6 separate regions of the Homo sapiens genome follow, and regions 1, 3, 4, 5 and 6 are each linked to region 2. Evidence: promoter capture Hi-C in 16 types of primary human blood cells and fetal thymus (Javierre and others, 2016). All regions are on one chromosome and are shown on one strand. Each heading gives the region's core, a stretch centred on a gene start or on the middle of the fragment in contact. The rest is flanking DNA. Distances are from core to core; before and after follow the strand shown.

What was found. Contacts are between HindIII fragments. The CHiCAGO score rates a contact against its expected background, and 5 or more counts as called.
Region 1: a fragment that was not itself captured here is called in contact with the fragment with the promoter of MON1A in region 2 in 1 of 17 cell types (endothelial precursors); the score reaches 5.1 in endothelial precursors.
Region 3: a contact is called between a fragment that was not itself captured here and the fragment with the promoter of MON1A in region 2, in 1 of 17 cell types (endothelial precursors). The highest score is 7.1, in endothelial precursors.
Region 4: the fragment with the promoter of CDHR4 here is called in contact with the fragment with the promoter of MON1A in region 2 in 1 of 17 cell types (endothelial precursors); the score reaches 5.5 in endothelial precursors.
Region 5: a contact is called between a fragment that was not itself captured here and the fragment with the promoter of MON1A in region 2, in 4 of 17 cell types (endothelial precursors, megakaryocytes, fetal thymus and 1 more). The highest score is 10.1, in endothelial precursors.
Region 6: a contact is called between a fragment that was not itself captured here and the fragment with the promoter of MON1A in region 2, in 1 of 17 cell types (endothelial precursors). The highest score is 5.1, in endothelial precursors.

Annotation. Positions count from the first base shown.
Region 1 is chr3:49,727,119-49,731,050 of GRCh38, forward strand. IP6K1 (inositol hexakisphosphate kinase 1) reads right to left here. Exons shown (of 6, transcript NM_153273.4): 5 at 985-1,160; 6 at 1-537. The coding sequence ends at 4. Among named protein-coding and RNA genes, the nearest start is that of GMPPB, 5.1 kb to the left of the region's middle. The HindIII fragment of the contact is 6,459 bases long and covers 1-3,932 here.
Region 2 is chr3:49,927,787-49,931,459 of GRCh38, forward strand. MON1A (MON1 vesicular trafficking associated A) reads right to left here and starts at 2,025. Exons shown (of 6, transcript NM_032355.4): 1 at 1,823-2,025. RefSeq lists a silencer at 1,732-2,081. The HindIII fragment of the contact is 4,855 bases long and covers 1-2,565 here.
Region 3 is chr3:50,062,253-50,065,973 of GRCh38, forward strand. It overlaps RBM6 (RNA binding motif protein 6), which reads left to right. Exons shown (of 21, transcript NM_005777.3): 16 at 2,779-2,874. Among named protein-coding and RNA genes, the nearest start is that of RBM5, 25 kb to the right of the region's middle. The HindIII fragment of the contact is 1,270 bases long and covers 880-2,149 here.
Region 4 is chr3:49,798,397-49,802,404 of GRCh38, forward strand. It overlaps CDHR4 (cadherin related family member 4), which reads right to left and starts at 1,477. Exons shown (of 19, transcript NM_001007540.4): 1 at 1,368-1,477; 2 at 851-1,041; 3 at 598-760; 4 at 430-521. The coding sequence starts at 1,416. The HindIII fragment of the contact is 36,577 bases long and covers 1-4,008 here.
Region 5 is chr3:49,700,995-49,704,710 of GRCh38, forward strand. It overlaps RNF123 (ring finger protein 123), which reads left to right. Exons shown (of 39, transcript NM_022064.5): 16 at 497-614; 17 at 817-916; 18 at 1,089-1,150; 19 at 1,340-1,411; 20 at 1,639-1,759; 21 at 2,433-2,534; 22 at 3,656-3,716. Among named protein-coding and RNA genes, the nearest start is that of RNF123, 13 kb to the left of the region's middle. RefSeq lists a silencer at 2,562-2,856. The HindIII fragment of the contact is 173 bases long and covers 1,345-1,517 here.
Region 6 is chr3:49,769,812-49,773,505 of GRCh38, forward strand. The region is part of intron 1 of IP6K1 (inositol hexakisphosphate kinase 1); the gene reads right to left. Among named protein-coding and RNA genes, the nearest start is that of IP6K1, 15 kb to the right of the region's middle. The HindIII fragment of the contact is 1,335 bases long and covers 610-1,944 here.

The DNA.
Region 1 (3,932 bases), core at 995-3,494, 200 kb before region 2:
GGCCTACTGGTTCTCGTCCCGCATCTGTTCCATGATGCTGATGAGGTTCTCCAGGCCAAACACGTAGCCTCTGTCTGGCCCATCATGCACGGTGGGGTCATCCCGGAAGCCCTTGAATGTGCTGTGTGCAAAGTCAATCATGCGGACATCCACCTTGGGCTGAGAGGAGGGACCCGCCTCGGGGCTGGTGTTGCTGGGGCTGGTGCTGGGGCCACAGGATGACGCCACCTCAGGGAGCACCATGTCCAGGTGCTTGAGACGCATCTCAGACCGGCGGTCCAGGCAGGACTCAGCCCGGCACTCCTTGCCATCATAGATGACAAGCAGGGAACTGGAGTAGAAGCGGTAAGAGGCCTGCCGCTCCAGCACAGCTTTCAGGCCCCGCAGTTTGCTCAGGATAGGCTCAAACAGGTCACGTCGCAGGTCCAGGCCATTGTGCAGATATTGATAGAGGGCATTGCGGAAGCCTTCAATGGAGAGCCCACGGCCATAGTACTTGTTCCTGCAGAGGTAATGCCCTGTGTCCAGCTGGTACACCTGAAACCCCAGGAGGCAGACAGGGTGAGTGCCAGGGAAGTCTGAAGAGCTCACAGTGCCCTGGGCAAACACTGTCTGGAAGGGACTTTGACCAACCTGAGCTTTTCTGCTCACCTATCTAAGTGGAACCAGGCAGGCCACATTCACCCTGGGTTTTCCCATTGCAGAACCAAGAGAAAGCAATACCAGGCCTATGGGTTCCCTGCCCCCAGCTTTGGAGCCCTCCTCCAACATCGGAACATCTTGTTGACAGGCAAGAGTCTTATTTGTCCCAATGTCGAGGCAGCAGACTCTCACAGTGGTCCTGCACCTGAGGCCCATATCAAAGTCAACAGGTAAGGACAGAGGGGCTCAGGAGGACACACTTGGCATAGATGGCAGGCAGGTATGAGCACAACCCAAATCATGCAAGTGGCAGCACCTAGGCTCTGAGCAGAGGTAACTCACCTGCATGCCGCAGACCCTGACGCCCAGCGTGGCTGATGTGCTCTGCTCGCATTTCCGCATCTGCCGGGCTGCCTTCTCAGCTGACGCGTCATCGCCATGCTGCCGCGTGCCCATCTTCAGGTCCAACACGCAGGGGTACTTGAAGTGGTGCACCACGTTCTCAAGCAGGAGGAACTCTGGGCCACGGTCAAGGAGAATGACAACCACACTCACCATCAGCCCCAGCCAGGAAAGCACAACCCAGTTTTTCTATAAAAGGGGGCTTTTACCTAATGCAGTATGTACTTGTCTCAAACTCTCAAATATGGGTTTCACACCACTGGCTTATTACTTAACCAATAAAAACTGTGGTAAAATATACATAAAATTTACTTCAGCCATTTTTAAGTGTACAATTCAGTGGCATGAAGTACATTTACTTTGTTGTATAACCATCACAACCATCTATCTCTACTCACAACCATCTATCTCTAGAACTTTTCTTTTTTTTTGAAACGGAGTCTCGCTCTGTTACCCAGGCTGGAGTGCCCTGGAGTGATCTCGGCTAACTGCAACCTCTGCATCCCAGGTTCAAGCTATTCTCCTGCCTCGGCTGCCTGAGTAGCTGAGATTACAGGTGCCCGCCACTACACCCGGCTCATTTTTTGTATTTTTAGTAGAGACAGGGATTCACCATGTTGGCCAGGCTGGTCTCGAACTCCTGACCTTGTGATTCGCCTGCCTCAGCCTCCCAAAGTGCTGGGATTACAGGTGTGAGCCACCACGCCCAGCTAGAACTTTTTCATCTTCCCAAAATGAAAAGAGATCCTCTCACCCTCAGCCTCTGGAACAACTAGGACTACAGGCATGCCTAATTTTTTTTTTTTTTTTAGATGGAGTCTCGTTCTGTCACCCAGGCTGGAATGCAATGGCGCCATCTCGGCTCACTGCAACCTCTGTCTCAGGGGGTTCAAGCCATTTTCCTGCTTGTACCCATTAAATAGCACTGAACAGTGACTCCTCATTTTCCCTCCTCCCAGCCCCTGGGAACCTCTAGTCTACTTTCTGTCTCTATACATTTACCTTTCCTGGGTATCTCATAAGTGGAATTATACAGTATTTGTCATTTTAAATGTCTGGCTTATTTCACTTAGCAGAATGTATTCAAGATTCATTTATGTTGTAAGCATGTATCAAAATTTCATTCCTTTTTCTGGCTAAATAATTTTCCATTGTATGTATATATCACAAACTTTTTTGTTGTTGTTTTTTGGTTTTTTAACCTAAGCTCTAGGGTATTTTTATGTTGATTTATTTTTGTTATTTTTTATTTTATTTTTTTTTTGAGACGGAGTTTCGCTCGTTGCCCAGGCTGGAGTGCAATGGCACTATCTCAGCTCACCGCAACCTCCGCCTCCTGGTATCAAGTGATTCTCCTGCCTCAGCCTCCCGGTAGCTGGGATTACAGGCATGTGCCACCATGCCTGGCTAATTTTGTATTTTTAGTAGAGACGGGGTTTCTCCATGTTGGTCAGGTTGGTCTTGAACTCCCCCGACCTCAAGTGATCTGCCTGCCTTGGCCTCCCAAAGTGCTGGGATTACAGGCGAGAGTTACTGTGCCCAGCCTTATTATTATTATTTATTTTTATTTTTTATTATTTTTTTTGAGACAGAGTCTCACTCTGTTGCCCAGGCTGGAGTGCAGTGGCTGGATCCAGAGCTCGCTGCAGCACTGACCACCTGGGCTCAAAAGATCCTCCCACCCTCAGCCTCTGGAACAGCTAGGACTACAGGCATGCCTAATTTTTCTTTTAATTATTATTTTTTTTGAGACAGAGTCTTGCTCTGTCACCCAGACTGTAGTGCAGTGGTGCAATCTCAGCTCATTGCAACCTCTGCCTCCTGGGTTCAAGCCATTCTCCTGCCTCAGCCTCCCAAGCAGCTGAGACTACAGGTGTCTGCCACCACCCCCAGCTAATTTTTTGTATTTTGAGTAGAGCAGGGTTTTACCATGTTGGCCAGACTGGTCTGGAACTCTTGACTCCAGGTGATCTGCCCACCTCGGCCTCCCAAAGTGCTAGGATTACAGGCATGAGCCACCGCGCCCAGCCGCCTACCTAATTTTTAATGTTTTTTTTAGAGACAGGGTCTCACTATGTTGTCCAGGCTGGTCTTGAACTCCTAGCCTCAAGTGATCTTCCCACCTTGGCCTCCAAAAGTGCTGAGATAACAGATGTGGGCCACCACACCCAGCCTATGTTATCTTTAGACCTATCTTGCAGGCAATATGCAAACTAAAGATTTGGATACATCCCTCACCATCAGTGAACCAAGGCCCTACTCAAGCCAGCACCTTGCCCAGGCCTAAGAAATAAGGAAGACATCTTGGTAGCACTACTACAAAAACAAGGAAACCAGATTCTAACATTCCCAAATAGGAATCTTTAGAAAAAGCTGGATTTACATTTCTTTTCTTTTTTTTTAGGATGCAGTCTTGCTCCTTTGCCCAGGCTGGAGTGCAGTAGCACAATTTCAGCTCACTGCAACCTCTGCCTCCCAGGTTCAAGTGATCCTCCTGCCTTAGCCTCCCAAGTAGCTGGAACTATAGGCGCATGCCACCATGCCCGACTAATTTTTTGTATTTTTTTTTTTGAGATGGAGTTTCACTCTTGTTGCCTAGGCTGGAGTGCAATGGCGCAATCTTGGCTCATCGCAACCTCCGCCTCTTGAGTTCAAATGATTCTCCTGTCTCAGCCTCCCGAGCAGCTAGGATTACAGGCATGCACCACTACACCTGGCTAATTTTGTGTACAGACGGGGTTTCTCCATGTTGGTCAGGCTGGTCTCAAACTCCCAACCTCAGGTGATCTGCCGGCCTCGGCCTCCCAAAGTGCTGGGATTACAGGAATGAGCCTGGATTTATATTTCTGTCTTGCCATTTGTCACTCAATTTGAAACCAGTGAATGAG
Region 2 (3,673 bases), core at 775-3,274:
GCTACTCAGGAGGCTGAGGCAGGAGAATCACTTGAACCCAGGGGGCAGAGGTTGCAGTGAGCTGATATCGCGCCATTGCACTCCAGCCTGGGCAAAAGATTGAAACTCTGTCTCAAAAAAAAAAACAACAAAAAAAAACAAAAAACTCCTTGGTCTGCCACATGCCACTGCTCTGTGACGTTGCACTTTTGGTTCAAAGACCCAAACAAGGTCTACAATAGCTTACTTATTCTGTCCTCAGGGCCCACTCTCCACTGATCCCTTGTGGGCTTTAGCTGACTAAGCCCAGTGTGGCTGAGTGGTACCCAGCACGGTACCTGCATGGGGAAGGGTTGGCGGGGGCCAGATCAGCTGGCCAGAGCTAGTGGATGCTTCCTTCACAATAGTTCTCCTGCCACCTGAGATCATACAGTATCTCAGCATCTCCTAGGTCAGTCTGGGGTCCAGCCAGAGGCCTGATGAAGCAAACAGCTCTCTGAATACTTACTCTGGAAACTCAGACAGGGAGGCTGAGTGAATCACAGCAAAATCCACCCCAACCCCCATTGGAGCCACAACTGTGCAACTGAAGCTCCTGGGAGGCTAGAATTGAAGAAGTTAGGCAAAGGAGGTCTCTTAGAACCAGCCCCAGATGCCCCTTCTCAGGGAACCCTTCTCAGACAACCCCTCTAGAAGCCCCAGGCCTTGCTTTTCCTAGAAGTGCCCTGCTATGCCTGTGAGCAATGTCACCAAACAAGTTGGCTCAATCAGCCCTTGTAGTGTGCCTCTCTCACTCAGGCAGCCTTGGAGCAGAGAAGGCCTTCAGAAGCCCCTCCCTACTGACTCCCTACCACTCCTGCTCCCTCTTCTTGCTTGGATAGCACTTCATTTCACCTTAACCCTTTGGAGCGGCCTGTCTGGAAAGGAGGTGCCAGGATACAGGATGTGTGGCAGACAAGGCCCAGGTGAGGCTGTGCTATGGCTGCTTCAGCAGGATGCCTACTCCATGCTGAGATCACAGTCTGGTCCTTGTCACTTCTGGCGGTTACTTCCCTCCCTGACAAAGGGTGCTCACTCTCCCTCTGCAAACTTGTGCCCAGAAAGGGTGGCTCACCCAGTACAAGGGACAACCCAGTTGCACCAGGCAAACTGGTGCAAAGTCCGGCCAGGCGCAGTGGCTCATGCCTGTAATCCCAGCACTTTGGGAAGCTGAGGCAGGCAGATCACCTGAGGTCAGGAGTTCAAGACGAGCCTGGCCAACATGGTGAAACCCCGTCTCTACTAAAAAAATACAAAAATACAAAAAATTAGCTGGGCGTGGTGGCGCATGCCTGTAATCCCAGCTACTCGGGAGGCTGAGGCAGGAGAATCGCTTGAACCTGGGAGGCGGAGGTTGCAGAGAGCTGAGATCACACCACTGCACTCCAGACTGGGCAACAAGAGTGAAACTCCGTCTAAAAACAACAAAGCAAAGACCCAAGCCCCTTCCAGGTGCTGCCCCGCTCATCCCAGTTACCTCTGTTGCTTTTTGAGAAGACTCTACCGGCCGAATATGTGTACGTTTGTTGGCGGGGCGGGGGTGGGGGAGTGGGGAGAGTCCTACCTGGCCACTGCCCCCTACCGGATCTCGCCCTCCCAGCCAAAGGATGGGTTCCAGATCTCGCCTTTTGTATTCCCCAGCTGGGGACTAGCCGGCTGAGGGACCGCAGGGAGACACAGTCTTCCCATTGCAAACGATAGCGTTGATGGCTGGAGGCCCCCGTCTTCAAGCCCCTCCCTCCAAAGATGACAGCTCTCCAGTCTCTAGGTGCCTCCAGGCCACGTGGGCTGGCAGTCAACTCACCTGTTTCTCAGAGGAGTCCAGGACGCACAGAAGGTGCCGGTCACTGCCCTCTGCCGGACCCATGGAGGGGTAAGGGTGTCCGGCCGGGGCCGGCCTGAGGGCACAGCTTCGCGGGGCCCCGGCCCCCTGCGTACACAGACATGGCCACAGCGCAGGCACCGCTCCCTCCCACCGCCCTCACCCGGCCGCCGGTGCAGGAAGATAGCTTTCGCCGGCCTCTCGCGGCCAAGGCCCAGCTCCAGCCGCTCAGCCCGACTCGGCCCGCCCCCGGGGTGCATTGTGGGAAATGTAGTCCTTAGCGTTTGGCCGCCTGCGGCGCCGAGGGACTGGTTCTGGGCTCCTAGTCCCAGCAGAGCCGTGGGCAGGTCCTGACCCGGGTCCGCGATTGCCTCATCCGGCGCCGCCTTCTAGGGGCCTGGGCGCCTCCTCCGAGTCTAGAGTCCCACACAGAACAGCCCTGGACTCTGGGCCTCTCCGTCCGAGCCAGCTAGCAGTTCATTTCAAGTGAGAGAAAGGGACGTTAGGATTGTTTCTCCCACTGATTGTGGAAGGACAGTGCAAGTTTGGGGGACTGGATAAATGTCATTAGTGGGCCCAGCCACACAGGCTGTAAAGGATGTGGGCATGCGCAAAAGTCGCACTAATTGTTTCTAAAAACATATTTGTAGCCACGTTTTAATGTATCAGTATAATGCTCTAGAACGGTAGTTCTCAACTCTGACGGCACATAGAATAAGCCGGGAAGCTTTAAAAAAAAAAAAAAAGAACTAGGACGGGCGAGGCGGCTCACGCCTGTAATCCCAACACTTGGGAGACCGAGGTGGGCGGATCACTTGAGGTCAGGAGTTCCAGACCAGCCTGGCCAACATGGTGAAACCCCATCTCTACTAAAAATACAAAAACTAGCCAGGCTTGATGGCGTGTGCCTGTAGTCCCAGATACTCGGGAGGCTGAAGTGGGATTCCAGGAGGTCGAGGTTGCTGTGAGCCATGATCATGCCCTGCACTCCAGCCTGAGCACCAGAGCGAGACCCTGTCTCAAAAACAACAACAAAAAAACTAATGCCTGGACACCAGCCCTAGAGATTTTGATTTAATTGAATTTAGAGTAGGGTGGAGTGTTGGGGAGCCAGGCATCACTATTGTTTTAAAAGCTCCCCAGGTGATTTACCATTGCAAAGAATCATTGTTTGTAATTTCCTAGACGCAAAGCAATAAAAACAACAGGAAAACAGTCAACAACAGGCTCTCCCAAAAGACCCTTATTTTTAGAGATGGTTTTAAAAAGTAAAATTAGTGTTTGGCACCACTGCTCATGTTCTTTTCTGAAGCAATTAATTCACTTTACAGCCTTATGGTTAATTCTCCCAAAAGTTAATAGGATGAAAAAAAAAGTCAGATCACTCCTCTGACTTTCCCTGCTGCTCCACAAGCACCTGGGGGCAGTGTCCTTTTCCTCTCTAAGCCCTACACTGGAGTTAGGGTAGAGCTCCGCCCCTGGGCTTTTCTTCCAGTCTCAGATGGCTGCCACTTGTAGCCTGCTTCCACAACACTGGCCTGTGACTGACATGGTGACAAAGCTGTGGCCTTTCACTGAAGATGGCTTTGCATAAGGCTATCAAGTTCTTGCACATAGTCTAAGGGAAGCTTTCTCACCCCCATGTCCCCCACTTTTAGGTAAGGACATAAGAAAATGCCCTATTCCTTAACTGAGAGTCTCTCCAGGTCTCCACAGATCACTCAGTATTTTATCTCCTCATTAGCTCAGAAGTCCAAGTTCCCTCCCTTAGGGCAAGAATCATTTATACAGTTGTTTTCTCTAATTATTACACTATAAGAGTTTGAGCCATGA
Region 3 (3,721 bases), core at 265-2,764, 130 kb after region 2:
CCAGCACTTTGGGAGGCCAAGGCGGGCGGATCATGAGGTCAGGAGATCGAGACCATCCTGGCCAACATGGTGAAACCCCTGTCTCTACTAAAAATACAAAAATTAGCTGCGTGTGGTGGTACACGCCTGTAGTCCCAGCTACTCAGGAGGCTGAGGCAGGAGAATTGCTTGAACCCTGGAGGCAGAGGTTGCAGTGAGCCGAGATCGCGCCACTACACTCCAGCCTGGCAACAGAGCAAGACTCTGTATCAAAAAAAAAAAAAAAACCTCTGTTAATGAGTATTTTTACCTGGTGTAGGCAATTCCCTCACCTCTTATATCCCAACTCTCTCTTTTACAAATGGGAAAACTATGGATGGTAGAACAAAGTGGCCCAGCTCAAATCCCAACACCTCAGCTCCATACATTTTCACTTTTCTACATTCCTTTTTTAGTGTTTGACTTTATACACATTTCTCTAGTTGTAATTATAGCAGGAGATACTGTTTAGTCACTTTTTATCCTAAGTATTTTTTCCATGTTTCTATATACTCTATTATTTTTAATGCCCACATGGTAAAAATTCACGGTATAACTGTACCTTCATTTTCTTCATCTCTCCTACATTATTTGTCTTCTCTTTCTAATCTTTTCTTTTTCCTTTTTTTTTTTTTTTTTCTGAGACAAAGTCTTCCTCTGTCTCCCAGGTTGGAGTGCAGTGGCATGATCATAGCTCACTTCTACGTCAAACCCATGGGCTTAAGCAGTCCTCCCACCTCAGCCTCCCAAGTAGCGGGGACTACAGGCATGAGCCACCATGACCAGCTAATTTTTGCTTTTTTGTAGAGACAGGATCTTGCTAGATTGACCAGGCTGATCTCGAACTTCTGGCCTCAAGTAAGCTTCCTGTCTCAGTCTCCCAAAGTGCTTCAGTTACAGGCAAGACCCACCTTGCTCGCCTCTTTCTAATCTTATACTGTCATAATATATAACATTTAGCATTTTGTTTCTTCTTTTAAATTACTCCCTATGACACATTTTCAGAATCAGAGATGATGAACATTTTTACATCTAATACAAAATCAAATTATTAGGCAGGGTGCAGTGGCTCACACCTGTAATCCCAGCACGTTGGGAGGCCAAGACAGGTGGATGCCTGAGTTTAGGAGTTTGACACCAGCAACATGGTGAAACTCCATCTCTACCAAAAATACAAAAAAAATTAGCCTACTGTGGTGATGCATGCCTGTAGTCCAAGCTACTTGGGAGACTGAGTTAAGAGGATCGCTTGAGCCCAGGAGATTGCAGTGAGCTGTGATTGCGCCACTGCACTCCAGCATGGACAACAGAGCCAGACTTGTCTCAAAAAAAAAAAAAAAAGAAAATCTGCCGGGCATGGTGGCTCATGCCTGTAATCCCAGCACTTTGAGAGGCCAAGGCAGGCGGATTACTTTAGGTCAGGAGTTTGAGACCGCCTAGCCAATATGGTGAAACCCCCATCTCTACTAAAAAGACAAAAATTAGCTGGACGTGGTGGCGCAAGCCTGTAGTCCCAGCTACTCAGGAGGCTGAGGCAGGAGAATCTCTTGAACCTGAGAGGCAGAGGTTGCAGTGAGCCAAGATCACACCTACCTTGATATCAGTTATGCATTAGTGAAAATGGATGAATTTGCTTGTGATTCAATTCATAACACCTTTTTTTCCCTTTTTTTTCTTTTGAGACGGAGCCGCTCTGTCGCCCAGGCTGGAGTGCAGTGGCGTGATCTATCTCGGCTCACTGCAACCTCCGCCTTCCAGGCTCAAGGGATTCTCCTGCCTCAGCCTCCTGAGTAGCTGGGATATCAGGCGCTGCCACAACGCCCAGCTAATTTTTGTATTTTTAGTAGAGACGCGGTTTCACCATGTTGGTCAAGCTGGTCTCGAACTCCTGACCTTGTGATCCGCCCACCTCAGCCTACCAAAGTGCTGGGATTACAGGCATGAGCCACTGCGCCCAGCCTTTTTTTCCCCTTCTAACACTGTTAGTTGTTTAGAGATACAGAAAAGAGGAGAGAGAGTGTGTGTGTGTGTTTAAAAACTTAGAGTCATACTGATTTAATATTTGGACTCTGCTTCAGCCACTTAATCTGTCAAACTATATTCCCAATCATTTGTAAAATTAAGATAGTAAAGCTTACATAGGAGGATCATAGTAAAGTCTGAAGAAGACAATGTTTATATATACATGCCTCATCTGGTCTGACATACAGTAATCATGCAATATATACTAACGTTTTATTTTATTTTATTTTATTTTTTGAGACAGAGTCTCTCTCTGTCACCCAGGCTGGAATGGAGTGGCACGATCTCGGCTCACTGCAACCTCTGCCTCCCAGGTTCCAGCAGTTCTTCTACCTCAGCCTCCCAAGTAGCTGGGATTACAGGCCAAAACCACCACACCCAGCTAATTTTTGTATTTTTACTAGAGACGGGGTTTCACCATGTTGGCCAGGCTGGAGCACAGTGGCACAATCTTGGCTCACTGCAAGCTCCGCCTCTCGGGTTCATTCTCCTGCCTCAGCCTCCCTACTAACTGGGACTACAGGTGCCCGCCACCACGCCCAGCTAATTTTTTGTATTTTTAGTAGAGATGGAGTTTCACTGCATTAGCCAGGGTGGTCTCGATCTCCTGACGTTGTGATCCACCTGCCTTGACCTCCCAGAGTGCTGGGATTATAGGCGTGAGCCACCGCACCCAGCCCAGCCTTTATCAGTTATTATGAGTGAATATCATGTGAGAGTTACCTCTGGTTTGATCAGTTTCAGGAAAATGCCAGTGAAGGGAAGGCCCCTGCAGAAGACGTCTTTAAGAAGCCCCTGCCTCCTACTGTGAAGAAGGAAGAGAGTCCCCCTCCAGTAAGACCAACATTGATCCCCTGGACCTAGGGCTGGGGCTGGGGATGGTTCCGAGTAGAAGAGGAAGCGCAAAGGCTGATGCCTTCCTCTGGTGTTGGTCTTTTACCTCACTATGTCTCCCGAATAAGGATTCCCATTTCTTTTGAGTACAAGCATGAGATAAAGTTTTCTGTCTGCTAATGGGGGTATTACTGGAGAACCAGAGGCAGTTATCTGGACTCTTTCTCTCTGCCCTGTGCCATTCTTACCAGACGAGATGCCTAGCCCTTTTTATCATCTTGTTCTTGTCAGTTCTCTAAATCACCAAGGAAACCCGTTTTCTCAGCCTCAATCTTTCCTGCCTTTTGGCATCACACAAGAATCTCTTAGATATGGAGTGCATGCGTGGTCATTTTTTTATAGTTTCTGCCTGTTCAGAGTGAATGATGCTAATATTGGTGCCCATTTTTTAGATGCCTTCAAGCAGTAGTCTCAACCTAATCACCAGTGATTCTGATTGAATGCAGGTATATAACAATAGTGACCATGCATTATTTATTTATTTTGAGTGATCATAGACCAATGATTATGCATCATTATTTAACAGTTCTTATAAGGTACCCTTTTCCTGCTCCGCATTATTAATTCAGCTCATTGTGGCATCTGTCTTAACCATGCTTTGCCTTTACCTTACATGTGAGCTGGATCTGTCTACCCAAGTGCCTATTAATGCAGTTGCTTTTAGTTTACTTCCTAAATCCTCTTTGCTAGAGTCTTAATGAAAGTCATCTTTTCTTCCCTCCATGAGTTACAGTAATTTGGAGGTATTTATCTCTTCCTCTTTGTAATTTGTAACCTTTTACTATTT
Region 4 (4,008 bases), core at 227-2,726, 130 kb before region 2:
TAACACGGTGAAACCCTGTCTCCACTACAAAATACAAAAAAATTAGCCGGGCGTGGTGGCGGGTGCCTGTAGTCCCAGCTACTCGGGAGGCTGAGGCAGGAGAATGGCATGAACCTGGGAGGTGGAGCTTGCAGTGAGCCGAGATCGCGCCACTGCACTCCAGCCTGGACGACAGAGCAAGACTCCGTCTCAAAAAAAAAAAAAAAAAAGAACTCAGCCCCTGAGATGTCCCTGTGGGAACAGCCATGGTCACTGGGGAGTGAGCAGCCCTCAGCAGCTCTCTCCAAGAACATACATCATGTAGAGGCTCATCTATGCCTCTGCTGCAAGGTTCCTCTTCAGGCTGTGCCTGGCCAGGTGGGGGTTAATTTATTCTCTCCATCCCCCCACCCCCATCCTGTCACCCACCGTCCCATGTTCTGGGCTTACCTGCGCTCCGTGGAGTTCTAGGCCTGGGAGGAGCAGAGTGTACAGCCGAGCCCCAGGTGTGACTGTCTCTGGCACCTGAATCATTTCCCCAGCTGGCCAGAGTGGAGGTCAGGGAGGATCTGCTCAGGCCATGCCTGCCCCCACCCTGCCGGCTGCCCCTGGCCTCACCTGGGCTGGCAAATTGACCAGCACACTGGATATGGCTAAGGTCCCGCTGCACATCCACAGAGAGTGAGCCCTCCATCACATGGTTGCCACATGTGAACTTCAGCTGCACCTTGTAGTGGTTCACCATCAGGGCATCCAACTGAGCAGAGCTGCTCAAGGTCAACTGGGGTGGGTGGACAGTGCCATGTGGGGCTTGGAAATTTTAGGTCTGCCCTTGTGCCCCCACAGTCCCCAGCTGTACACATGACCCTACCTTGCCCACATAGGTCCCTTGCCACCTGGCCAAGCTGGGTGGGTTGAAGAAGGTGGTGGGTGGCTGGACATTGAGCAACTCCAGGGTGGGTGTGGGCGTGTAGGAGGAGCAGTTGAAGGATAAAAACTGAAGGACTGTGCCAGGGCCCTGGCTCTCAGAGACATTTATAAAGCAGGGCAGGCTGCAGAGGTCTGTGAAGAGCAGAGAATTCAGGCTGGAGGCCCCCAGGCTGATGGAACCACACATACTAGCATAGTCCTGTCCTTTTGCCACAGGGCCTGGCCATGCCATGGGGCCAAGCAGCTAAGGCCTTTCCTTGTATCCAGCATCCAGCATTTCACAGATGGGGAGTGAGAACTTGACTGAGGAAGTGGCCAAGAGAAGGGGTGAGGGCCAGGGGTTCAGATTCTTACACTTTCCTACCTCTCCCCCAATCCCTGTCCTCCATGGTAGCTTATCTGGGAAGGGTCAGGACTCCAAGGGAAAACTACGGTTCCCCCACCCACCACCTCCTCACCAGAGACCACCGGAGCAAAGAGGAACACGAGGAGCCTGAGCAGCACCATGATGACCTGAAGACACAGACAGCAGAGGAGGCTTCAGAAAGCTAGGCTGTTTGTCTGACTCACCCTGTTGCCAGGTCAGTTGCTCAAACATAGCTGGGCAGGCGGGACTCCTGGGCCTCCCAGATTCTATCCCCACCCATCCCTGGTGACTGAGTTCTAGACCTCTGGCAGGCTTCCAGAGGCTCAGAATATCCCATTTTCCATTGCCCCCATTCATTACAACTCTAAGGGCATGGAAGGGGAGGAGGATTAAGGTTCAGATGAGGAAACTGGTCATGCAATCCGTGGAGATAGAGCAAGCACAGCACCCAGGAAAATTTGGCCCAGGACCTGCTACCCCACAGAGTCTCAACTCCAGCTGGACCCCCTCCATTAGAACATTATCTGCCTATAAAAAATGAGCCCAACCGTCAACAAAATCTCTCAAAACTTGCTGGGTGTGGCGGCTTACATCTGTAATCCCAGCACTTTGGGAGGCTGAGGTGGGAGGATCACTTGAGCTCAGGAGTTCAATATCAGCCTGGGCAACAAAGTGAGACCCCATCTCTACAAAAAATTAGTTGGGTGTGGTGATCCAGGCCTGTAGTCCCAGCTACTCTGGAGGCTGAGGTAGGAGGATTGCTTGAACCCCAAGAGATCGAGGCTGCAGTGAGTCATGATTGTGCCACTGTACTCCAACCTGAGTGACAGAGCAAGACCCTGTCTCAAAAAAAAAGAAAAAAGAAAAAAAAAGTTGTCTACATCCAACAAGCAAAAGGAATCCTTTATGATAGAAATACAAATACTGGTTACCGTTGGGAATATCAGTTGGATAGGGCACCAGGTGGCATCCAGGAGTTGCTGAGGATGTTCTATATCTGGGTGGCAGCTGCACAAGTGTCTACAGATTTTAACATTTACTGGGCTGTAACTTTGAGATCTGTCTATTTATTGTATTTATATGTCAGTTTTTTTAAGTTTTCTGGCCAGGCACGGTGGCTTATGCCTGTATGGGAGGCTGAGGCAGGAGGATCGTTTGAGATCAGGAGTTCGAGACCAGCCTGGACAACATGGTGAAACCCTGTCTCTACAAAAAAAAAAAAAAAAAAAATTAGCTGAGTGTGGTGGCACATGCCTGTAGTCCCAGTTACTTGAGAGGCTGAGATAGGAGGGTCACTTGAGCCCCAGAGATGGAGGCTGCAGTGAGCCAAGATCATGCCACTGCACTCCAGCCTGGGTGACAGAGTGAGGCCCTGTCTCAAAAAAAAAAACAAAAACGGTTGTCTTTATTTGCCATCTCCAGTTCTTCAGTCCTCACTCTCTTCTCCACACACTCTAATCAGGCTTGTCCCTCTCTACACAAAACTGCCCTTGTCAGGGTTCCCAGTGACCTATGCACTGCCGAATCCAGTGGTTTGTTCTTCACCCTCACTGCCTAGGCAGCATTCAATGCTTGCTCCCCTTGGGTCCTGAGTCCCCACATTCTCAGATTTCTCCTGGCTGTTCCTGCTCAGCTTCTTTGATAGCTCTGCTTCATATCTCCCCTACCTCCACCTCATGGAATGTCCCAGGGCACAGTCCCGATTGCTGTCTCCCTCTGACTACACTGATTTCCTCCCACCCCACCTTATCCAGGCCTATGGCCTTACATACCATCCATTCACTCACTATGCCTCCCAGATCCAAGGCTCCAGTGCTGATCTCTCTCCTGAAGTCCAGAGTCATACACCTAGCAGCTGACTCTGCAACTCCTCTTGGATGTCTAACAGGCATCTCAAGGGTTACGTGTCCATAAATGATCATTGGATTTTCCTCTCCAAACCCACTCTTCTCCAGTCTTTCCCAGATCAGTTTATGGCAATTTCATCCAACCAGCTGTTAATGCCAGAAATGTAGGAGTCATGCTTGATGCCTCTTTTCCTGCCCACATCCATGCATCAGCAAGACTTGATTTTAGTTCCAAAACATACCCCAAAGTGACCCCCTTCAGTGCACCTGCCCTGCCCAGGCCTAGGCCCTCCCCTTCGTTGCCTGGATGAGGGCAGGGACTTCCACTCTTATTGCAGAATCCTTTTCTGAAAGCAGCTGGGATTATCTAAACAAGGGCTAGCCCAGGTCATTCCTGCTCAAAGGCCCCCATTGCTCCTCATCACACCAAGAACAAAACCCACATTCTGCTCTAAGGCCGTTAGAGCCTGGTTTTGCTGACCTTTTCCCTCCTGCCACCACCACCAATCACAGACACCTGGGCCTTCTTTATGTTTGGCCCTGTCCAGCTCCTGTCCGTCGGGGTCTCTTCCCTGGCTGCTCCTTCTGCCTAGAATGTTCTTCTTCTCCTTCTTCTCCTTCTCCTTCTTCTCCTTCTCCTCCTCCTGCTTCTTCTTCCTTTCTTTTTTTTTTGAGACGGAGTCTCACTCTGTCGCCCAGGCTGGAGTGCAGTGGCGCGATCTCCGCTCACTGCAAGCTCCGCCTCCCGGGTTCACGCCATTCTCCTGCCTCAGCCTCAGGAGTAGCTGGGACTACAGGCGCCCGCCACCACGCCCGGCTAATTTTTTTTGTATTTTTAGTAGAGACGGGGTTTCACCATGTTAGCCAGGATGGTCTCGATCTCCT
Region 5 (3,716 bases), core at 181-2,680, 230 kb before region 2:
TTCATGTTCCACAGTGGGGATTCCTGCAAGATCTTTAAGGAGGCAGCTCTTCCTGCTTCCCAGAATTGTTGGGAACTGCATGAGTGAGTGAGAGCATAGCTTTGAGCCCCTGGCTGGGAAGCCTCAGCTTGTAGCCGTTTTCTTGGTCTGGGGTCTTCCAGCCTCCAGGAGGCAGACACAAAGCTGGGAGACACAGAGGTCAGAGTTGGGGCCTGAGAAAAGGCCACCAGTCCCTCTCTCCAGCTTGTCCCACAGTCATCTGTTCCTGTGACAAGCCCTTATCGTGCACCTGCTGGGTACTGGAGCTGGTGGGCTTAACCACCACAGCTTTTTGTCAGGGAGCATGCCCTGGGGGTCAGACACATAGCAGCAACATGCCCCTGTGGTGGTGGGAGAGCTGTGGTAGGCACATCCAGGGATGGGCTCCTGGGGAAGGACTCTTGAGGGTGTGCAGAGTGCCCTTTGGCAAGCAGAGCCCTGCCTTGACACCCGCCAGCTTCGACGTGCTCCGCTCCGTCGTCTTCTTTTACATCAAGAGCCCCCTGCGTGTGGAGGAGGCCGGCCTGCAGGAGCTCATTCCCACCACCTGGTGGCCCCACTGCTCCAGTAGGGAGGTGAGTGCACCCCAAGTGGGATGGGCAGAGGTCATGGCAAGGCCCCTGGCCTGGGCATCTGGCCACTGGGCATCTAGCATGAGGCCTTTTCACTGGCCCTGGTCCCTGAAGCCCTGGAGATGGAGTGTGGGTGTTCTGAGTGAAGGAGGCCTGGCTAGGTCCCAGGTGACCCTGCTGTATTCCACCTGCTACCCCTGCCTAGGGCAAAGAGAGCACGGAGATGAAGGAGGAGACCGCAGAGGAGCGGCTGCGGCGGCGAGCCTACGAACGGGGCTGTCAGCGGCTCAGGAAGCGCATCGAAGGTCAGCCCGCCTTGGGCACGGGGTAGGGTGGGAGGTGTGTGTGTGCACATGAGGGTGCTTGGAGGTGCCCATGTCTAGGTGGGACTTGGGGAACCCTGGTGGTGGAGCCCTGGCCCAAACCTGCCCCCCATCTCCTGGAGCCTGAGGGCCATGTTCCTCACCTGACCTCCAGTGGTGGAAGAACTACAGGTCCAGATCCTGAAGCTGCTGCTGGACAATAAAGATGACAATGGGGTGAGTGACTCCCAGGAGCCCTGGGTGGGGCCCTGTGGGGAGGGATGCTGCACTGGGCCTTAAGACCCAGAGGGTGGGAACTGGGTTTGGTTCCCATGGCAGGGGCTGGGGGAAGGTGCAGCACTGAGCCAGCCCAGTCTGGGCCTGCATTCTCAGCTCAGCACAGCCTCACTTTTCCCTCTCTCAAAGGGTGAAGCTTCTAGGTATATCTTCCTGACCAAGTTTCGCAAGTTTCTGCAGGAGAACGCCAGTGGCCGGGGGGTAGGTGTCCTCCAGGCCAGCCCACTGTGGATCCCCGGCTGCACTACACATGCCATGCCCTCAGCACCTGGCACTTCTCGGACTGCCTCATCCCTGCCTAGCCCCAAGCTTTTCTCTGCTGCTTTTCCCTCCCTGCTTAACCCTCGACCCTCAGGCAGGGCCTTGGATGAGGAATGGGCAAGGCACTGGACTGGCACCAATGCATGTTTCATGCCTGGTGTCCACAGAACATGCCCATGCTCTGCCCCCCTGAGTACATGGTCTGCTTCTTACACCGGCTGATCTCTGCCCTGCGCTACTATTGGGATGAATACAAGGCTTCCAATCCTCATGCTTCCTTCAGTGAGGGTGAGTGGCACCGGGGTCCCAGGTCAGTGAGGCTGGACAGAGCCAGGCGTAGGGCAGCCCCTAATGTTAGTGCAGAGTGCTGAGCTGAGGCTGTGGGCTGTGGGGAGTTGTCCCCGGCATCCTGCCTGGTTGAGTCCTACCCAGCCACAGGCGGCTTCTCCACTGGGGCAGCAGGAGCCCTGCACCGCAGGCCTGCCGATCCTGTGTTTGCTCTGATTGTCCCACGGGCTCCTACCATTGTGGGCTCTTTTCTTCCGTCCTTGCCCCCCCATTTCTCTGTGCGTCCTTTATAGGGCTGCCTTGGGTGGGTGCTGGGGGGCCCTGTGTTTGAGTCCCCAAGGGTCAGTGGGAGCCTTACCTGCCCTGGATTGGGGGATATCCCACAGGACTGGGGCTGGGCCTCTCTGCTTCTCCTGAGTGAACGGCTGCCATGAGTACCCCCATCACCCCAAGTTATGCAGCTGCTGGCTCTGACCTGAAATGGCAGGGGTGGAGAAGAGGTAGGGGAGGTCTGTTTCTTGGTCCAGGAGACAGTTTCTCTGTCTGCCTGGATGGGTGAGTGGCCAAAGCCAGAATTCCCAGGCTGTGCTAGGCCAGATTGGAGGGGAGGGCTGTGGGGAGGGTCTTCCTACTGGGCCGTGACCACTGGCCTAGCCTCCTCAATTCCTCGCAGAGGCCTACATCCCGCCCCAGGTCTTCTATAATGGCAAGGTGGACTACTTTGACCTGCAGCGCCTGGGGGGCCTCCTCTCGCACCTGCGGAAGACCCTCAAAGGTGTGTACAGGCCTGTGGGCCGGGAGCAGTTCTGGGGCCAGGTGGGGGACTGTCCCTGAGCCTGCTCTGCTGTGGATGCTGAGCCATCCTATGGCCACCAGAGGGTGCCCAAGTCTTTCCACCCACTCAGGCAGGGAGACACTGATCTGCCTGCCCTACATCTGGGCAGCTTCTCTTTCCCGCCAGCACCCACGCCATAGGGGTCGGGCGTGCCTGGCAGGGGACCAGGGATCTTGGTGAGGTGTGGATGGGGCGTGCAGGTGCTGCCGGAGCTGCCTTCAGGGATGAGCACAAGCTGCCCCGGTGCAGGGCTGAGGGCACAGCGAGAGCAAGGCCCTGAGCCGGGCACAAGGGTGGGTCTGTGCTGTCAGAACCTCTCTCTGGCTGCCGCAGTGTATACGCCGGAGTGCAGGGGCTGAGAGACAGGGAGCCCAGGTGTCCCCACACAGGAGATAAGGGCCTGCCCAGGTAGGTAGGGGAGGGCACAGGTGGAGGAGAGGAGTCAGGATGACCCCAGGCTTCCTGCCAGAGGTTGTGTGGATGGGGTGCCATCAGGGAGAGGGGCTGCAGGAGGTGGTGGAGATGAGAAATTCTGTTTGGACACAGCGCGTTTAGCGGGGAGCAAGGCCTGGGCGGGGGGCAGCGAAGGCGGGGTCAGTTGTCAGCACGGTGGTGGGGATGAGCCTGGGATGAGGCTTGGCTCCCACTGGGAGTGCCCAGAATGAAGCAGCCCTGGCATCTCCTTTTGTTTATGGAGTAGTCAGAGAGTGGGGGAGGCCCTGGAGAGCAGGAAGTCCTGGGAAACAAAGCCAGGGACCAGCAGGAAGGGCATGATGGGCTTACATCTATGTAGAATAAAGAAAGTCAATTTGAAAATAAATGAAAAAGAAGGGTGTGATGGGGAAGGCCTCCTGTTACTGAGTGGCAGCTAGACGGGGCCCTTGAGATGCAGAGTGAAGGCTGGGTGGAGGAGGCGGAGGGGCGAGGGGCAGATACGGTGCTAAACCGGGCTCTGCAAGGCCTCCTGCCCAGTGTGCTGGGCTCTCTCACCGTCCTGGGCACTTCCACTGTGGCCCCTTGCGCCACCACTGGCCTGAGAACCCTCCTGCTCTTCCTCCCAGATGACCTTGCTTCCAAAGCCAACATTGTGATCGACCCACTGGAGCTCCAGTCAACCGCCAT
Region 6 (3,694 bases), core at 27-2,526, 160 kb before region 2:
TTAAAGTAGGGAAAATTTAAAAACAAACAAACAAAAGCCCTGGGTAGAGATAAACAATATGGAACTGAGGCTTCCTGCAAAGAGCTTTATGAATAAGTCATCTTGAAAACAGATCCTCTAAGCCAAGCATGGTGGCTCAGGCCTATAATCCCAACACTTTGGGAGGCCAACAGGGAAAGATCACTTGAGCCCAGGAGTTCAAAACCAGCCTGGGCAACATCTCTACAAAACATAGAAAAAACTAGCCCTGCATGGTGGTGCATGCCTGTAGTTCCAGCTTGAGAGGCTGAGTTGGGAGGATCACTCAAGCCCAGGAGGCCAGGGCTGCAGTAAGCTGTGATCACCACTTCACTCTAGCCTGGGCCACTTCTGAATTCCTAGCCCTCAGAAACTGAGGTAATAACTGTTTGCTGTTTTAAACTGCTAAGTTTTGGAATAATTTGTTACAGAGCAATAGATAATACACAAGTCTTTTCAACAAATGTTGCTAGTAATGGAACAATCAGTTATCTATGTGGGGGAAAAAGAAACACCAGCCCCAATCTCACACAATAACAAAAATTAACTTAGGATGACTCAGAGACCAAAATGTAAAAGCTAAAACTAGAAAGCTTGTAGGTGAAAACACAAAAAATAAAGTTAGGCTGGGCATGGTGGCTCATACCTATAATACCAGCACTTTGGGAGGCCAAGGTGTGCAGAGCTCACCTGTAGTCTTAGCTACGCGGGAGGCTGAAGTGGGAGAATGGCTTGAGCCCAGGAAGTGGAGGGTGTAGTGAGCGGAGATCATGCCACTGCACTCCAGCCTGGGTGACAGAACCAGACCCTGTCTCAAAAAAAATAAAGTTATATGATTTACACTACCTGACTTCAAGCCTTGCTAGAAATGTCCAACACTTAAGAGGTAGGCAAGGTGTCCTCAGACACTCAGACAGAACACAGAAAGCAATAACCATAACAGAAATTATTGATAAATCGGACTTCATCAAAATTGAAAACCTCTGATTATTTATTTATGAGATGGAGTCTTGATCACACCCGTATTCCTAGCATCTTGTGAGGCCCAGGCAAGAGGAATGCTTGAGGTCAGGAGTTCAGGATCAGCCTGGGCAAATATGCTGAGACCTCCGTTGCTACAAAAAATTTTTAAAAAGAAAATAAGCTGGGCATGGTAGTATGCACATGTAGTCCTAGCTACTAGGGAGGCTGAGGCAGGAGGGTCGTTTAAGCCCAGGAGTTAGAGGGTACACTAAGTTATGATCACGCTACTACACTCCAGCCTGGGCAACAGAGCAAGACCCTGTCTCTAAAAAAACAAAACAAAAAACAAAAAATATAGTATCCAGAATACAAAAAAACTTCCTAAAACTCAGTAACAAAAAAAAAAAAAAAAAAAAAAAACCCTGCCAGGCACAGTGGTGAACACCTATAGTCCCAGCTACTTGAGAGGATGAGGCAGAAGGATCCTTTGAGCCCAGAAGTTCAAGTCCAGCTTGGGCAACATAGGGAGGCCCTATCTCTAAAAGATACATTTCTTTAAAAAATAAAAAAGCCAATTTTAAAAAAAAATGGGCAACAGATTTGAATACATACTTCACAAACGAAGATACACAAAGACCATTAAGTACAGGAAAAGGTGCTCAATATCATTAGCATTCAGGTAAGTGAAAATTAAAACCACAATGAGTTACCACTATACTTTCACCCAAATGGCTAAAATTAAAAACACACTACAACACACTTAATGTTGCTAAATGTGGAACAACCACAACTCTCATACATTACTGGTGAGAGTGTAAAAATGGTACAACCATTTTGGAAAAGGTATTATAGTTTCCTATAAAGCTAAACATACATCTATCCTATGACCCAGCAATTCTAGTCTCTTCAAGAGAAATGAATGTGTATGTCCACACAAAAAACCTTTGCAAAAAAGTTCATAAAAGCTTTACTCATAAGGCAAACACTGGAAACAGCCCAAATATCTATCAACAGAATAAACAAACTGTAGTGTTAATGCAATGAAATACTATATAGCAATAAAAATAAACTACTGATACAGACAACAGCATGTATAAATTAAAACACTACACTGTGTGAAAGAAACCTTACTCAAGAGTGGCCAGGCGTGGTGGCTCACACCTGTAATCCCAACACTTTGCGAGGCCAAAGAGGGAGGATCGCTTGAGCCCAAGAGTTTGAGACCAACCTGGGCAACATGGCAAGACCTCTACAGAAAATTTTTTTAATTAGCTGGGTGCAGCAGTGCACACCTGTAGTCCCAGCTACTTGGGAAGCTGAGGTGGGAAGATCCCTTGAGCCCAAGGTGGGTTCAAGGTGGCAGTGAGCTATAATTGCACCACTGTACTCCAGCCTGGGTGACAAAACAAGACCCTTTCCCTTAAAAAAAAAAATATATATATATATATATGTGTGTGTGTGTGTAACACATATATATGTAATATATATGTTATATAGTCTTCCTTTTTAACTTAATATATTTTATATATATAATATATAGGAAGACTATATAATATATAAAATATATATATATAGAAGGCTATATATACATATATTGTCTTCTTATATTCTAGAGCGTTCTCTTTTTTGAGACAGGGTCTTACTCTGTTACCCAGGCTAAAGTGCAGTGGCACGATCATGATTCACTGCAGCCTCCATCTCCTGGTCTCAAGCAATCCTCCCATCTCAGCCTCTCTAGTAGCTGGGACTATAGGCACATGCTGCCACACCCAGCTAATTTTTTTATTTTTTGTAGAGACAAGGTTTCACCATGTTGCCCAGGCTGGTCTCAAACTCCTGGACTCAAGTGATCCTTCCATCTCAGCCTCCCAAAGTGCTGGGATTACAGGCATGAGCCACCACACCCAGCCTCTCTCTACTTCTGACTAGCCAATTTCTCATTACTCCAGTCTCTGTTACAGTTAATAATTCTTTTTTTTTTTTACATAGAGACAGGGTCTCACTACGTTGCCCAGGCTGGTCTTGAACTCTTGAGCTTTTTTTTTTTTTTAAAGACAGAGTCTCACTCTCACCCAGGCAGGAGTGCAGTGGTATGATCACTGCTCACTGCAGCCTCCAACTCCTATGCTCAAGTGATCCTCCTACCTCAGCCTCCCCAGTTGCTGGAATTTTAGGCATGTCCCACCATGCCCAGCTAATTGTTTATTTTTTGGTAGATAAGCGGGCCTTGCTGGGTTGTCCAGGCTGGTTTTGAACTTCTAAGCTTAACTGATCCTCCTGCCTCAGCCTCTCAAAGTGCTGGAATTACAGGCATGAGCCATTGCACCTGGCCAATTAATAATTTTGTATATAGTCCCAATTCTACCAATGAAAAGTAATACTGTAAACAGTCAAGTTAATATGCTTAAGGGTCCAAGTGGTCCTGCCTGGTACACTCTGCTTCATGAAATTACTCAAACTTAATATGGGCTCCCTGGCACCAAGGTCAGCACTTACTTTAGAGACACCTGCAAAATATGTAAGATAGCCACATACTGGCCGGGCGCGGTGGCTCACGCCTGTAATCCCAGCACTTTGGGAGGCCGAGGTGGGTGGATCACAAGGTCAGGATATCGAGACCATCCTGGCTAACACAGTGAAACCCCATCTCTACTAAAAAATACAAAAAATTAGCTGGGCGTGGTGGCGGGCGCCTGTAGTCCCAGCTACTTAG